Linked DNA regions of Homo sapiens: regions 2 and 3 are each linked to region 1. Evidence: promoter capture Hi-C in human tissues and cell types (Jung and others, 2019). All regions are on one chromosome and are shown on one strand. Each heading gives the region's core, a stretch centred on a gene start or on the middle of the fragment in contact. The rest is flanking DNA. Distances are from core to core; before and after follow the strand shown.

Region 1 (4,750 bases), core at 877-3,376:
TTTTCACTGAGTTGAAGCCACAGCATTTTCTGAGAAATGGAGAGGACACCCGTTCTTTGCCATCTCTTTGTCTCCCATTTTCCACATGGTGCCTCACAAAAAAATTGCCTTTAGCTTGTGCCTTATGGCCATCTGTCCTAAGGCTTCAGACACCAGGCAGTCCCCGGGACTGAGTGAGAGGCAGACAATAGTCTCCCTGGATCCCAGCCTCTTGGGGCAGGTGACTAATTTGCAAAAGGTCAGGATACCTAGCTAAATGGTCATTTGGTGACATAGAGGCCATGATTAGTGTCTGCCAACAATTCAGCAGAATGGTTGACAAGGTCAGATAACAACAAAATGAGAGAATGGAGGTGAGAAAGGTACAGACAGTAAATTTCATGAAAGGGCAGAGGCAGGAAAGCAGGAAATGGGGAGTGGTGGTGGTGGTGGTGGCTTTTAACTTGAACACAGTGGCAGGCTGAGGCACCAGGAAGGGAGGAGCCAACAACAGACCGGAGAAGAGAAAGGCTCTGAGTGAGTAGCAGGTGCAAGTCGTGTGGATAAACCTCAGGCTGAGGGAACTTAAGGCAACAGCCTGAGGGCCCTGAAACAGACCCTGGACCTCCTGGCAGGGGCCTCTGGAAGGAGCCTGGCCACAGGGTTCTGAGGTAAAAGAATGAAAAAAGAGAGGAGGCTCAGACTCTGTGGCAGAGCCTACTTTGGAGGGAAGTGGGAAGTGGGAAGTCCGGAGCCCTGACCACGTGAGGGGCCTCCCAGCCCTGCCACATCCTTTTCTCTGGACAGAGCTGTCACTTAGCTCCCCCTCCGTGACTCAGAATCTGGCTTTCTCATTTTGCCATTTTAATTCTAGTAACGATGAGAGTCACAGTAAAAAGCTGCTTCTGGGAGTGGATTTTCTTCCCTTCCCTTGATCGCAGTATGCTTGGGATTCCTCTTACGTGGCAGTCGTGGTGTCCAGCTCTGGCCTTGGCCCCGCCTCTTTGAAGATACTCTGGTTTCACCATAAAACTTCCTGGGGAAAGGATGATTCACGTTTAAAGGACATAGTTTTTCCTTGATTTGTTTATTTAAGCTACCATACACTAGAGGGGGCCGGAACTAGACCCAGGAGTAGAGGACTTTGCTTTGCGGGATAAGGAGAATGGGCACCCTGGGGAAGAGCGAAAGATTTCCTACTGTTACAACCCGTGTCTTATAACACTTGAAGTGAATGTGGTGTCTGAGTTACAACACTACTTCCCCTCACAAACAGTTAAAAGCAGAGGGTCACAAACATAGGCTCAACCAGAAAAAAAGATTCTCATTTCATCTGTAGTTTTGTATCAAGGATTGTGTTGGAATTTGCCTCCATATTAAACTGCTGTTCAAGGGTTACCAACTCAAATGGTTATGGGGTGAAGCCGGTGTCTCAGGCATGGGCCTGTCGTTGGGACCTGTGGCAAACCAAAGCCACTACTTGCCCTATACAAAGGGGGCAACAGCTGTCAGCCCCAGCAGCTTCCACTAAAAGGTGCAAGCTCTGTATTGCCCGACCTGACTTTTCAGAGAGAAGTTTTAAGTCCGAATTGTTTTGTGAGACCTCCAGATTTTTAAATACTGAGAATGAATTCCATTAAAAAGATCACAACAACAAACACCCACCATACAGTCCAAGCAAAATGCTGTGAGAGCAACCTTCATGAGGAGTGCAAAGTCACAGTTTCAATTTCACTTCTTCTAAAGAGATTTCCAAGTGTTCTGTTTCTTAAGTGATTCTGTTTGCATTTTAAAATACAACTGTATCTCCTAGAGGGAAAACAAGAATTTGCTCTAAGAAGTCACTGCCTCCTCAGCCCCTTTGTGAGTAAGCACTTTATGCTTCCCCAGAGGTGACTAAACTCTGATCATTGCCAATGGGCAGGCACTCCCCAAATGTCCAAGGACAACAAAGATACCCAGAGTGTCTTTCATAGCTACCAATGATTAAATAGCAAGTATTGCATTCCTGGGCATTGCTAACTAGTGAAGTATACCAGATGGAAATGTCTTCGAAGCTGTCCCTTTAAAACTCGAGCAAGCTACCAGGCAAACTCCGCCTCCAGGGAGGTTCCTTATTAAATAGGAGCCAACTGGCTGGGTCGGGGCTCAATACCCCAAGCAATACCTGCAACTGAGGATTCTTCCCGGGGAGACCGCAGCCCATCGGCATGGCTCAAGAGTTTGTGAACTGCAAAATCCAGCCTGGGAAGGTGGTTGTGTTCATCAAGCCCACCTGCCCGTACTGCAGGAGGGCCCAAGAGATCCTCAGTCAATTGCCCATCAAACAAGGGCTTCTGGAATTTGTCGATATCACAGCCACCAACCACACTAACGAGATTCAAGATTATTTGCAACAGCTCACGGGAGCAAGAACGGTGAGTTTCATTTTAAACGGCTAGGGAAAGGCTCCCGGATTGCCTTTTCTTGTCAGAGCTGTGCCTTTCTTTAGGATAAGGCTGCGGCTCCGTACTTCAAGGCGTCCAGAGGGCTGTGCGGGGCGGGGGGTGTGGGGGAGGGCGCCTTAGAGAGGATCTCGGTCACTTGAATGAGCGGCGGCACTGCAGCCAAAGGTCTTCACGGGGCAGAAGAGGGAGTACAGCTGATGTCTGCTGTGCGGCAGGGTAAGTGGGACCAGCAGCTTGCCGGTGAGTCCCTGGGGAATTATCTAGAGTCTTTGTTTTAAGCACTGCCAGGAAATGACAGTTTTCAGTTGGCAGGGCTGGAGGTGGAAGCTGGGGTGGAGGGCCGGGTGTGATGTGTTTGTTATTTAACATGAGATTCATGTTCTTCATTCTTTTCTCTAGGCTTTCTTTTTCTAATTTGCTCATTCTTCCTTATCTAATTCCTCCCACTGGAAAAATCTAATGTACCGTTATCTGCCCCTTGTTCTAAATTAATTATGGATGTTTCCAGGCCCCACATTGTAGGGAATCATAGCCTGGAGTTCTGGCCTGGCTCTTATAATGGCTGGCTGTGTGATCCTGGGCAAGTCACCACCCCAGTAGTCCTCAAAGATCCCAGCTGCAAGACCAGATTAGGTGACCTCAGAGTCCCATTTGCTACGAATAGACTGTGGGACCCTCTAAAAATTGCTCTCCTCCATCCGAAAGACTTCCCTCTCTTCAGCATCCTTGGCTTTGCGTCCTGGGCTTCAGGAGGGATGCCAGCCACATCACCTGTATCAGTTCTGCTGTGAGGTGGGATGAGAAATGTCCCACCAGCTCAGCTAAGTTCTCTTTTACGATGCACGAATTCTACAGCACAGTGTTAGGCCAAGCACATATCCTATTTCAGTTTTAGTTTGACTTACAAGGTTGTCTCTGGGTTCTGAGTATAAAGCATTGGAGGTTGTTTCTCTCCCCTTCTCTCTAATAAGAAGTCAGCATTTTGGTGCAGAAAGGGGGCTTAGTGTGTTATCCTACTGCTGTGTGCTGAGGTCCTGGAGTATACACAATGACGAGAGAAGCTCTTGCTGCCTAGTGGGACCACCAGCTGCATAGGATGCCCAGGCCCTGAGAGGTGTAAAGGGCAGTGCAAACACTACTACGGGCCCCACTGTGGCTGCCACCCTGAGGACCTTTTAGCCATTGGTTCCCAAACTTTGCTGCACATTAGGATCACCTAGAGAGCTTTTAAAACAATCCTTATGCCCAAATTATGCCCCTCAATAACTAAATCACAATGTCAGAGGTGGGAGCCAAGCATTAGTTTTGTTTGTTCGTTTGTTTTGAGACAGTTTCATTCTTGTCACCCAGGCTGGAGTGCAATGGTGCAATCTTGGCTCACTGCAACCTCTGCCTCCTGGGTTCTCCTCAACCTCCCAAGTAGCTGGGATTACAGGCGCCCACCACCATGCCCAGCTAATTTTTGTATTTTTAGTAGAGACGGGGTTTCACCATGTTGGCCAGGCTGGTGTCGAACTCCTGACCTCAGGCGATCCACCTACCTCGGCCTCCCAAAGTGCTGGGATTAAACGGGTGAGCCACCACACCTGGGATTTTTATTTGGAAAAATCCCTTGGGGATTCCAATGTGCAACACAATTGGGATTATTGTTCTCAGCCCAACAGCATCTATTTTCCAGGAGGTAAAGCAAACCTCTTCATGTGTTCATTTAACAATTGCTTTTTTTTTTTTTTTGAGATGGAATTTCGCTCTTGTCGCCCAGGCTGGAGTGCAGTGGTGTGATTTTGGCTTACTGCAACCTCCACCGCCCAGGTTCAAGCAATCAAGTAGCTGGAATTACGGGCACCTGCCACCACACCTAGCTAATTTTTGTATTTTTATTAGAGATGGGGTTTCACCATGCTGGCCAACCTGGTCTCGAACTCCTGACCTCAGGTGATCCACCCACCTCAGCCTCCCAAAGTGCAGGTGTGAGCTACCACACCTGGTCAACAATTGCTTTTTCATTTCTTTGTAGAACAACAATATTTCTTGTAGTAATCTTTTAAGGTTTTTTTTTTTTTTTTTTTTTTTAAGAGACAGAGTCTTGCTCTGTCACCCAGGCTAGAGTGCAGTGGTGCAATGATAGCTGACTGCAGCCTCGAACTCCTGGGCTTAAGTGACCCTCCCACCTCAGCCTCCCGTGGCTGGGACTACAGGCATGAGCCATCATACCCAGCTAATTTTTTAAGTTTTTGTACAGATGGGGGTCTTGTTATGTTACCCAGGCTGGTCTTGAACTCCTGGCCTCAAGCTATCCTCCCACCTCAGCTTCCCAGAGTGCT
Region 2 (4,793 bases), core at 1,120-3,619, 420 kb before region 1:
ATGTTTATTGCGGCATTATTCACAATAGCAAAGACTTGGAACCAACCCAAATGTCCAACAATGATAGACTGGATTAAGAAAATGTGGCACATATACACCATGGAATACTATGCAGCCATAAAAAATTGATGAGTTCACGTCCTTTGTAGGGACATGGATGAAATTGGAAATCATCATTCTCAGTAAACTATCACAAGAACAAAAAACCAAACACCGCATATTCTCACTCATAGGTGGGAATTGAACAATGAGAACATATGGACATAGGAAGGGGAACATCACACTCTGGGGACTGTTGTGGGGTGGGGGGAGGGGGGAGGGATAGCATTGGGAGATATACCTAATGCTAAATGACGAGTTAATGGGTGCAGCACACCAGCATGGCACATGTATACATATGTAACTAACCTGCACATTGTGCACATGTACCCTAAAACTTAAAGTATAATAATAATAAATTTAAAAAAAATTCTTCCAGATAAATTTTAAGCACATAAAACAAATACATGCTTATCATATAAATAGTAGCATATTATACATTCTGATATTAGTACATAATAAATTTCATTCTGTATTGTAGCTGTATAGTATTCAATATGTGAATTAAGTATACTTTATCCATTTCCTTCCTAATAAACATTTATATGGTTTTCAATCCCTCTAATGTAGCAAATAGTTCTGTAGTGAATAATCTGGTATAAATGTCCTTTTGAAAGTATGTAAAATTATCAGTAAAATAAATTCCTAGAGTTAACTCACTGCATCAGAAAAAAAAAAAAAAAAAAAAAGAAAGTTAGCTGGGCAAGGTGACATGCACTTGTGGTCCCAGCCACTCAGAAAGCTGAGGCACCACAATTGCTTGAGCCCAGGAGTACAAGGCTGCAGTGAACTATGATCATGCCACTGCACTCCAGCCTGGGTGACAGATCAAGAGCCTATCTCTAAAAAATAATAATAATAAAAAAATGAATATTTCTTGAAGTCACTCAATTCTTGCAGAGGCCATAACATGCAGTAAGATTTCAACTGGGAAGGAAGCTGGACACAGCTGCAGACTGTATAAAGCATTAGGAAAGCTGGCTAAGAGTAGACAGTAAAGAAGGTGGACCCAGAAATCGGACGCTTGCCCAGCAGCTTCACCAAACATGGAGAGAAAACTGTGCACAGTCAACATTCTTCTGCTGATGTACCTTCCTTCTTCCTCCTCTCAGTCTGTGGGAGACAGATCTGTGAACTGACAGTATGATTGAAATCCAGCTGTAGTAAAGCTTAATAGCAGAAAGCTGAAGTCTGACCTACCCAGTTTGTGGATAGATATCAAGCATAGGTAATCTATTGCTCAAATAAAAATGATAAGCAGCAAGACAAAAATATTGATATGGAATTATGAAAATAATCTATGGTATAATAAATTAATTACATTCAAGATGGAAAAACAAAGCAAAATTTACAAGTTACCTACTATATAGGAAATAGGAGGTAAATATTAGAAACTTATGCTTCATGTTCCCAATAAAATTATAAAAACATATACTATTGAAGGTCAAATGAGGTTAAATTACAAATTAGATATAAGTGTGCCTGGGTAAAAGGCAGCAAAAAGAAAAGGGCAGGTAAGAAGTCCAAAAGACGCAAAATTATAACACGTATCTAGAATGAAGGCAGTAAAGATAGAATTGACACTATAGAAAATAAAACTAGTGATGTGAAGAATATACTTAAAAGATTCTTTCAGAATGCAGAGAAAAAGAACAGATATTTAAAAGATGAGAGAAATAATATTATAAAGGGATGATAAAAAGAAAAATCCAATGTTATTAATAATTCATATTCCAGATAATACCAGAAGAAAATGAGATAGAAACAATAGGTAAAGATGTGATACAAGAAAATTGAAAGACGTTAGGACAAAAAGACTCCCTAAGGGCAGATTAGTGGAAAAAACCACACATCTCCTGAAATTTTAACATTTCAGGATTGAAGAATGAGTACTACATGCATGCAGGTAGAAAAAAAGCAAAGCTAGAAACATTAAGGTAGAAATCTAATAAAGTTTATACTCCCCCCAAAAAAGCCTCAAATATCACACTCCTAATTAACTCTAGGGTCAAAGAGAACTCAAAACTCCTGTCAGGAGACAATTTAAAAATAAGTCTCAATAGCAAATTAGTAAAGAATAATCACAGGCAATTTACAACATGAAAATAAAATTAATAATAAAACAATACAACAGCAATCATTATATAGCACTTATTTTATACCAGGTACTATTTAAATGACTTAAGTATATTACATATGTTTACATATATAAGTCATTGCATAATTGGGCAATACATTTATCAAAAATGTAACCTTACCATTAATTAAAAAAATTAAAATTTTAAAAACAATGAAGTTGTTAAAAATTATAGTTTTATCATATTGGCAATGATTATATTAATTATAGCCAATGGTGCCAGGATATATGAAGTAAACACTCTCACCAAAGTTGGTAGGAGTGCAAATAACACAACCAATCTGAAAGGAAGTTTGGAAAAATTTATGAAAATTTAATATACCTATACCCAATGACTCCCAAACAATTCTATGTCTAGAAACCCACACAAAAGAAATAAGTTTGCTGATTAAGGAGGTATGTACAATCATTTTCAATCCAACATATTGTTGGTTTCTACTTTATTAATTATTTAGCTCTCATTATATAGTAAAGATACTAACATAGAAACAGGAAACACTTTAATATTCTTCAATAGTGGGTAGTTTAAATAAATTATAGTATAGCCAGGCTGTAGAAAACTATGCAGCTATTAAAAATGAAGATATAGGCTGGGCGCGGTGGCTCACGCCTGTAATCCCAGCACTTTGGCAGGCCAAGGCAGGCAGAGCATTTGAGGTCAGAGGTTCGAGACCAGCCTGGCCAACGTGGTGAAACACCATCTCTACTAAAAATACAAAAAAAAAAAAAAAAATTAGCCAGGTGTGGTGGCAGGTGCCTATAATCTCAGCTACTCAGGAGGCTGAGGCAGGAGAATCACTTGAACCTGGGAGGCAGAGGTTGCAGTGAGCTCAGATGGTACCATTGCACTCCAGCCTGGGCAACAGAGCAAAAACTCCGTCTAAAAAAAAGAAGAAGAAGAAGGAGAAGAAGGAGAAGAAGGAGAAGAAGAAGATGAAGATGAAGAAGAAGAAGAAGAAGAAGAAGAAGAAGAAGAAGAAGAAGAAACAGATTTGCATTTTCTGACATTAAAATATTATCTAAAAGGGAAAGAAATATAAAATTGCCTAAATATAGTGTGATGTCATTTTTTAAAAATATGTATAGAAAGAAAAAGAGAACAGAGGAAAGAGAACAACCTAAAAGAATGTCTCAAAGGTTAAAATGTATTAAATTTAGTAGTTAAATTATGAGTGTTCTTTATTTTCTTGTTTCTATTTTTCTGAAGATCATCTGAAAAAATAACATTGTATTTCATTTTGTTTAATTATGAGAGATGACTAATAATGTTTTTGGTAACATTCATATAATCTTTCATTATTTAATCAACAAATAATAATATTAACTAAACATACAATTTTTATAAATTAGAGGATAAAGTAAACCCAAAGGAAGCAAAAAGAAGGAATTAAAAGTTAAAATCTGTTTTAATAAATTAGGAATTGGAAAAGGACAGAATCAAAAACAAAACCATGAGAAATTCTTTGGACAAAAATAAGCTTTAGGAAAAATTAGGAATGCGTAAGTAGAAAAATTAACAGATTGAGAGTAGATTTTTTTAATTGTTAAAAATATGTACATATAATTCTATGAAAATATACTTAAAGTCTCAATAGAAATTACATGTTTATAGAAAAAAATACAAATTTCCAAAATCAAATTAAGAAGATATAGACAAACTGAATAGATAATGATGACAAAAACAATGTAAAGCTTTGGCAAAGATTATTTCCAGAATATGGTTCCAGGCCCCTTTAGTTTTATATACAAATTATAGAAACTTTCCAAGTAATTGGTGATTTTCAAACGATTAATAATCGCTTCTACAGGCTAGAAAAACGTGCAACTTTTAGACACCATTTTTAGAAACTAATAAATCCCTAATTCCCATATCAGACAAAAGTAGAACACAGATATTACCCCTACTCCCCCCAAAAAAGGCTAAACTCACATTTGAATAAGACTTATATAAGCAAAATTCTAGCAGAGACAAATCACATGATACTAACACCAATACAAAGGTTCTAGGGTAGCTCACCATTCCAGAACCCTCCTCTCAGGCCATACTTCTCTCTCCTTGCAGAATTAGCCTCTTTAGGGCCACCTAAGCCCATAACACAAAGATATGAAACCCCACTGTGGACAGACCTGAATCCATTTTGGTTTCTGTTAAACATCAGTGATTTCAAGTCACTGAAGGGGAGATGACTGTCATCTAACTTCACTTACCAGAAGAATCTGGGTTTCAGCTGCTTCTCTTTGAGAAATGCTGACACAACTTTAGTTGTAATATACAACCAAAACAAGAGACAGGCTATAGGATTCAGAGGAAGAAGACAGTACTTCTGACTGGACAAATGAAGGATCAGGAAAGAGGCCACGGCATTTGAGCTGGCTTTTCAAAGACAGGGTTGCATTATCACACTACACATGGACAGGAATGTAACAGAGTACTTTATTTCACAGTCAAAGAAGAACCCAGGTCCAGTAAGTTATCATGGTCATAAATACACAGTATTGTCTAACTTAGGGCTGCCAGATAACATATAGGCCACCCAGTTCGATTTGAATTTTAGAT
Region 3 (4,659 bases), core at 913-3,412, 490 kb before region 1:
CAGATGCCTAGATATTTTACTGCTCAGGCTATCAAGCCATTGAGCTATTGTTACAACAACTGACCACGCCATGATAGCATTATCATAGCTGTTTTTCTGTTGTTGTGTGGTCAGCATTATGGATTGGGAATAAATTTGAGCTATTTGCTGATCTGCTTTCCAGGATGCAGCATTATTGGCTCTGAAGGAGCTTTAGCTTTGTAGTCTGTGGATGCATATTGAGAATAATATCAGGGTGCAGATGTTACCAAACCTTTATATGTTTGGTTTGTTTCCTAAAAAAACACCCATAAGATCCTCCAAGGGGCCCACCTCAGTTAAGCTAGGAATTCACTCAGCCTATTAATATACTAAAATGCCAAGTCAGGGCTTCTCTGATTGTTGCTGCATGCAATAGGATGTGACAGTTTTTAGAAGTGGCTTGTTTAAAAGCTTTGCACTTCCTTGGAAGAAGGGTTCATGTAATATGACTAAATAATTATTATGATCATCATACATATTCATCAGATAAAATTATTTTTCAAGTATATACAGAACAAAATATGCTAGGTTTTAAGGTTTTCATTCTAAAATAGGATGACACCATTCTTTTTTTTTTTTTTTTTTTTTTTTTGAGATGGAGTCTCACTCTGTTGCCCAGGCTTGAATGCAGTGGCATGATCTCAGCTCACTGCAACCTCTGCCTCCTGGGCTCAAGCGATTCTCCTGCCTCAGCCTCCCTAGTAGTTGGGACTACAGGAGTGCACCACCATGCCCAGCTAATTTTTTTTTTTTTTTTTTGTATTTTTGGTACAGACACAGTTTCACCATGTTGCCCAGGCTGGTCTCAAACTCCTGGGCTCAAGTGATCCACCTGCCTTGGCCTCCCAAAGTGCTAGGATTACAGGCATGAGCCACCACACCTGGCCAGGATGACACCTTTATAATGTACGTGTGACTTGCTTTAAATAAACCAGTAGTTTTCTGAAATGTCAAATGTGTGTGGTAATGTTCAAGCTGGACAAGTATCTCCTTCGGTGTATGTTATCTAACTAGTATCTTTTATACAGAGGCCTTGCTCACTCAAACCTAGTCTCTCTTTAGGTACCAAGAACATAACTAGATAATCTTTTAAGGCCAACCATTCCCAGTTCAACATTCCATTCAACATTATCTACACAGAGATCTTATGTGTAATATTCGGAAAACAAAAGACTTAATTTGAGAAGAGCCAGAGTAAAACTAGAAACAGATTTACTTGGCAATTAAGTTAGATAAATATCAGTAATTACAGCATATATAACCCAGGTGTGGTCTTATTTCATCTTTCCTCTCAAAGGAATTAGTATAGTCTTTTGGCCCTGGGTGGCTTAGGTCAGAGTCCTCTTCTTGCATCATTATCCTTTGGGATTCCTGATGACACTCTCTGTGGGGGTTCTCAGATTCTGGCTGCATTCTCTCACGGTTCCCCTCTACCTTTAGAAAGTTTCTTTGTTACAACATGTTCAGCTGTTGGTGCTTTCAACCTGACTTTTTGATCTCCTCTGCACATTTAAGCAGGGCTTTATCTGATGCTGACAGTTTTGCCGTGCTTCCCATGGTAACATTCTCTGCATCTAGTCCCAGGTTTGCACATCTTATTGTGGTTCCCCTGCCTCTTAGATTAGGTCTCAGACATACCTCACAATCTTTCTCAGCTGGGCTACAGAACATCTCCTGGCATCTGGGGAGTTTAGGACAAGAGGACAGAGAAGATGTGACTCTGGACTCCTAGCTATGCTTCAGCTCAGGCAGCTTGACTTTGAGCTCTATTATATATTGCATTCTAGGTAAGATTTCTTTCTAAGCAAGATTTTCTTGGCAAACAAGCAAATGGAGAAGTTTACATACTAAAATGATGGCAAGTACTTCTTTCTTAAGTCACCATGTGGTCAGGGAAACTTCTGTTTATATTCACTATTCTGGTTACCTATTACTATGTTACAAAGCCATACAAAAATTGGCAGCTTAAACAGACAAGCATTTAATTATATCTCCAGATGTCATGGGTCAGAAATTCAGAGAAGGCTCAGGCTCAGCTGGGTGGGTTTTGTTTTTCTCTGCGTGGCTTGAAGGAGTTCACTTGGGGGTACTCAACCCTTAGGTGGTCTGAATGGTCCACAACAGCTTCTCTCTCATGTCACTTGATGGTGACAGCAGGAAGTCTGGGCTCAGCTGGATCTGTCAACCCAAAGTGCCTACATGTGACTACTCCAGCATGGCCATCTCAGGAAAGCTGGACTTCTTATATGGAGGCTCAGAGATCTCAAAAATAGTGTTCTAAGAAACAGAAAGTGAAAACCTACAGATATTTAGGGCCTGGGCTCAGAAAACTGGCACAGTGTCACTTCTGCTATTATTCCATTGGTCAAAGCAGTTACAGAGCCCATCCACATTCAAAGGGAAGGCAATAGACCTCTACCAAAAATAGTAGCAAAGAATTTGTGGCTATCTTTAATCTACCATAGTTACAGACCTTTAAATGGTGCCATCTTTGACCCAAATGACCATATGGTCAGTGACTTCACCACTCCCACTTCTCTTTCTGATCTCAGTTTCTGGTCTTGCTCTCTACCCTGGCAAAGATGATCATGCTGCTGAGTTGACATATACTGACCAGTCTAAGGAATCATGGCCTCACATTGTTCACTATACATTTCTGAACTGGCTTCCAAGAGCACTGTCTGTATTCCCTATCAGTCCTTCCACTCTGTGAAGTGCAGAGGTTTCCCTTTGGCTACGGTTGTCATATAAAAGAAGGTGTATGTAGTTAAACTTGAACTTCAGATAAACAACAAACTTTTTTATTATTATAAGAATGTCTCAAATATTGCATGGGACATACTTATACTAAACAATTGTTTAATCCCACAGTCCTAATATTTTGCTGACATGATTAAAGCAATTACTTATACCCGTATCACAGTTTAACAATGGAGACAAGAGTCACAGAATTATTTTAATTCTTTGACTTTTCTTTCCCATAACATGTGGTTTATAATCACACTGATTGCGTGAGGGTGAGAGGAATCCAGTCCTGAGATCAATCAAATCTTATGATCACCACTTTGCCTAAATATATTAATATATAAATGGCTTCTACTAAATAAACTTTCTTGTTTAGCAAATGCTTCTATCATTCCTTTTTGAAGTTAAAGAAAACCTCTGCATTTAAATGTAGCTATATTGCAAATTTAAAGGGTCAGTCAAAAGTATTTATTGAGTGTGTACTTTATGTTAAGTCAGTAACGATCAGCATGTGCTTCTTGACTGGGAGGAGTTCAGCGTCTAGGAAGGATACAGAAATGTGAACAGGTTATCACAGAGCAACGTAATAGGACTTAAAACAAGAAAAGGGTTCAGCAGGTATGACTTAAAAGGCTTAGGGAATTTGACATCATAAAGGAGGTAATATTTGGTCTGATCTTGAAGAACAAGTAAGAATTACCCAGGCAGAAAAGGAAGCCAAAGTCATTCTCAGCAGAAAACAAAAACAAATAAACAAACTTGTACAAATGAACAGTCATGAAGGATCCTGCCATGTTTGTGTAGCAGAGAAGGCTCTTGGTCTAGTCAAAGCTGGAGAAGAGGCACTGGAGCCCCATTTGCTCAGCTTCACCTATGCTACAAATACATAGAAAGGATGAGGTTCCTAATTCATCCCAACATTTAGCAACAGCAAGAGGAAGCCTAACAAAAGCAAGTGATCACAAGGCCCAACAAATAATCAAAATAAAGGCAACAGGAAAGATGCCCAACTTCAGCAAGGATGAAAAGAAAATTGGTGCTGTAGCTCCCACAACTTTAATTCTCCTCTCACTATGGCAAAAGTCAATTTTCTACATGAGACTGGCTTGGAAAATTACAGAAAATAATTTACAAGTTTTCAGTTTTAGAGATAATCAGCAAAATATTTCTCTGACCCACTGTGTGAAGAAATGAGCAAAAACTCTTCTAACAATTCCATTAGAAATCCTATGATAGCAAGGTCCCAAACAAGCTAGAAAGCAGGTTCCTATGCATACAGAAGCCATGTATATTTGGGTACTGCATACTTGTAATTTAGGATTAATGATAGTTCAGTGGTCCAAAATGGACAGGAAAACATGGTGAAGAGCCAAGACTCAATGATAACAAAACAGCAGAAACATCTTTTTGATGTCTGATACACCTTCAATTATTTGATGTTTTTCATAACTGATTTTATAAACCTAATTATTAAAACTTGAAAGACAAAATGAGGTATCATGACACACCTATTGGAATGGCTCAAAATTAAAAAAAAAATCTGACAGTGCCAAATGCTGAAGAGAATGCAAACCAACTTGAATGTTTATATATTGCTGGTGGGATTTCCACATTGGGAAAATGTTTGGCAGTTTATAAAGTGAAGGTTACATGAAGGTATTTACCCTGGAGAACTAAAAGCCTATGTCCACATAAAAACCTGCATATGGATGTTTAAGTAATCTTATTCATAAATGCTTAAAGTTGGAAACAACCCAAAATGTCTATCAACTGGTGAATAAATTGTTATATCTATATAGCAATAAAAAGAACTACTGATACACACAACAGCATGGATGAATCTAAGAAGCATTATGCTAAGTGGAAGAAGCCAGACTCAGAAGAATACATATT

Evidence for each region. Contacts are between HindIII fragments. The study calls those that stand out against the background at their distance.
Region 2: a contact is called between a fragment that was not itself captured here and the fragment with the promoter of GLRX in region 1, in 1 of the 25 tissues and cell types used here (thymus).
Region 3: a fragment that was not itself captured here is called in contact with the fragment with the promoter of GLRX in region 1 in 1 of the 25 tissues and cell types used here (dorsolateral prefrontal cortex).

What each region holds. Positions count from the first base shown.
Region 1 is chr5:95,820,102-95,824,851 of GRCh38, reverse strand. GLRX (glutaredoxin) reads left to right here and starts at 2,126. Exons shown (of 3, transcript NM_001118890.2): 1 at 2,126-2,396. The coding sequence starts at 2,190. RefSeq lists enhancers at 878-1,378, 1,609-1,698, 3,615-3,754. The HindIII fragment of the contact is 9,845 bases long and covers 1-4,750 here.
Region 2 is chr5:96,236,731-96,241,523 of GRCh38, reverse strand. All of the region lies in intron 1 of LOC101929710 (a long non-coding RNA gene), which reads right to left. It also overlaps a transcript of CAST not described here. Among named protein-coding and RNA genes, the nearest start is that of MIR583, 160 kb to the right of the region's middle. The HindIII fragment of the contact is 5,381 bases long and covers 1-4,793 here.
Region 3 is chr5:96,313,431-96,318,089 of GRCh38, reverse strand. All of the region lies in intron 2 of LOC101929710 (a long non-coding RNA gene), which reads right to left. It also overlaps a transcript of CAST not described here. Among named protein-coding and RNA genes, the nearest start is that of PCSK1, 120 kb to the left of the region's middle. The HindIII fragment of the contact is 4,889 bases long and covers 1-4,606 here.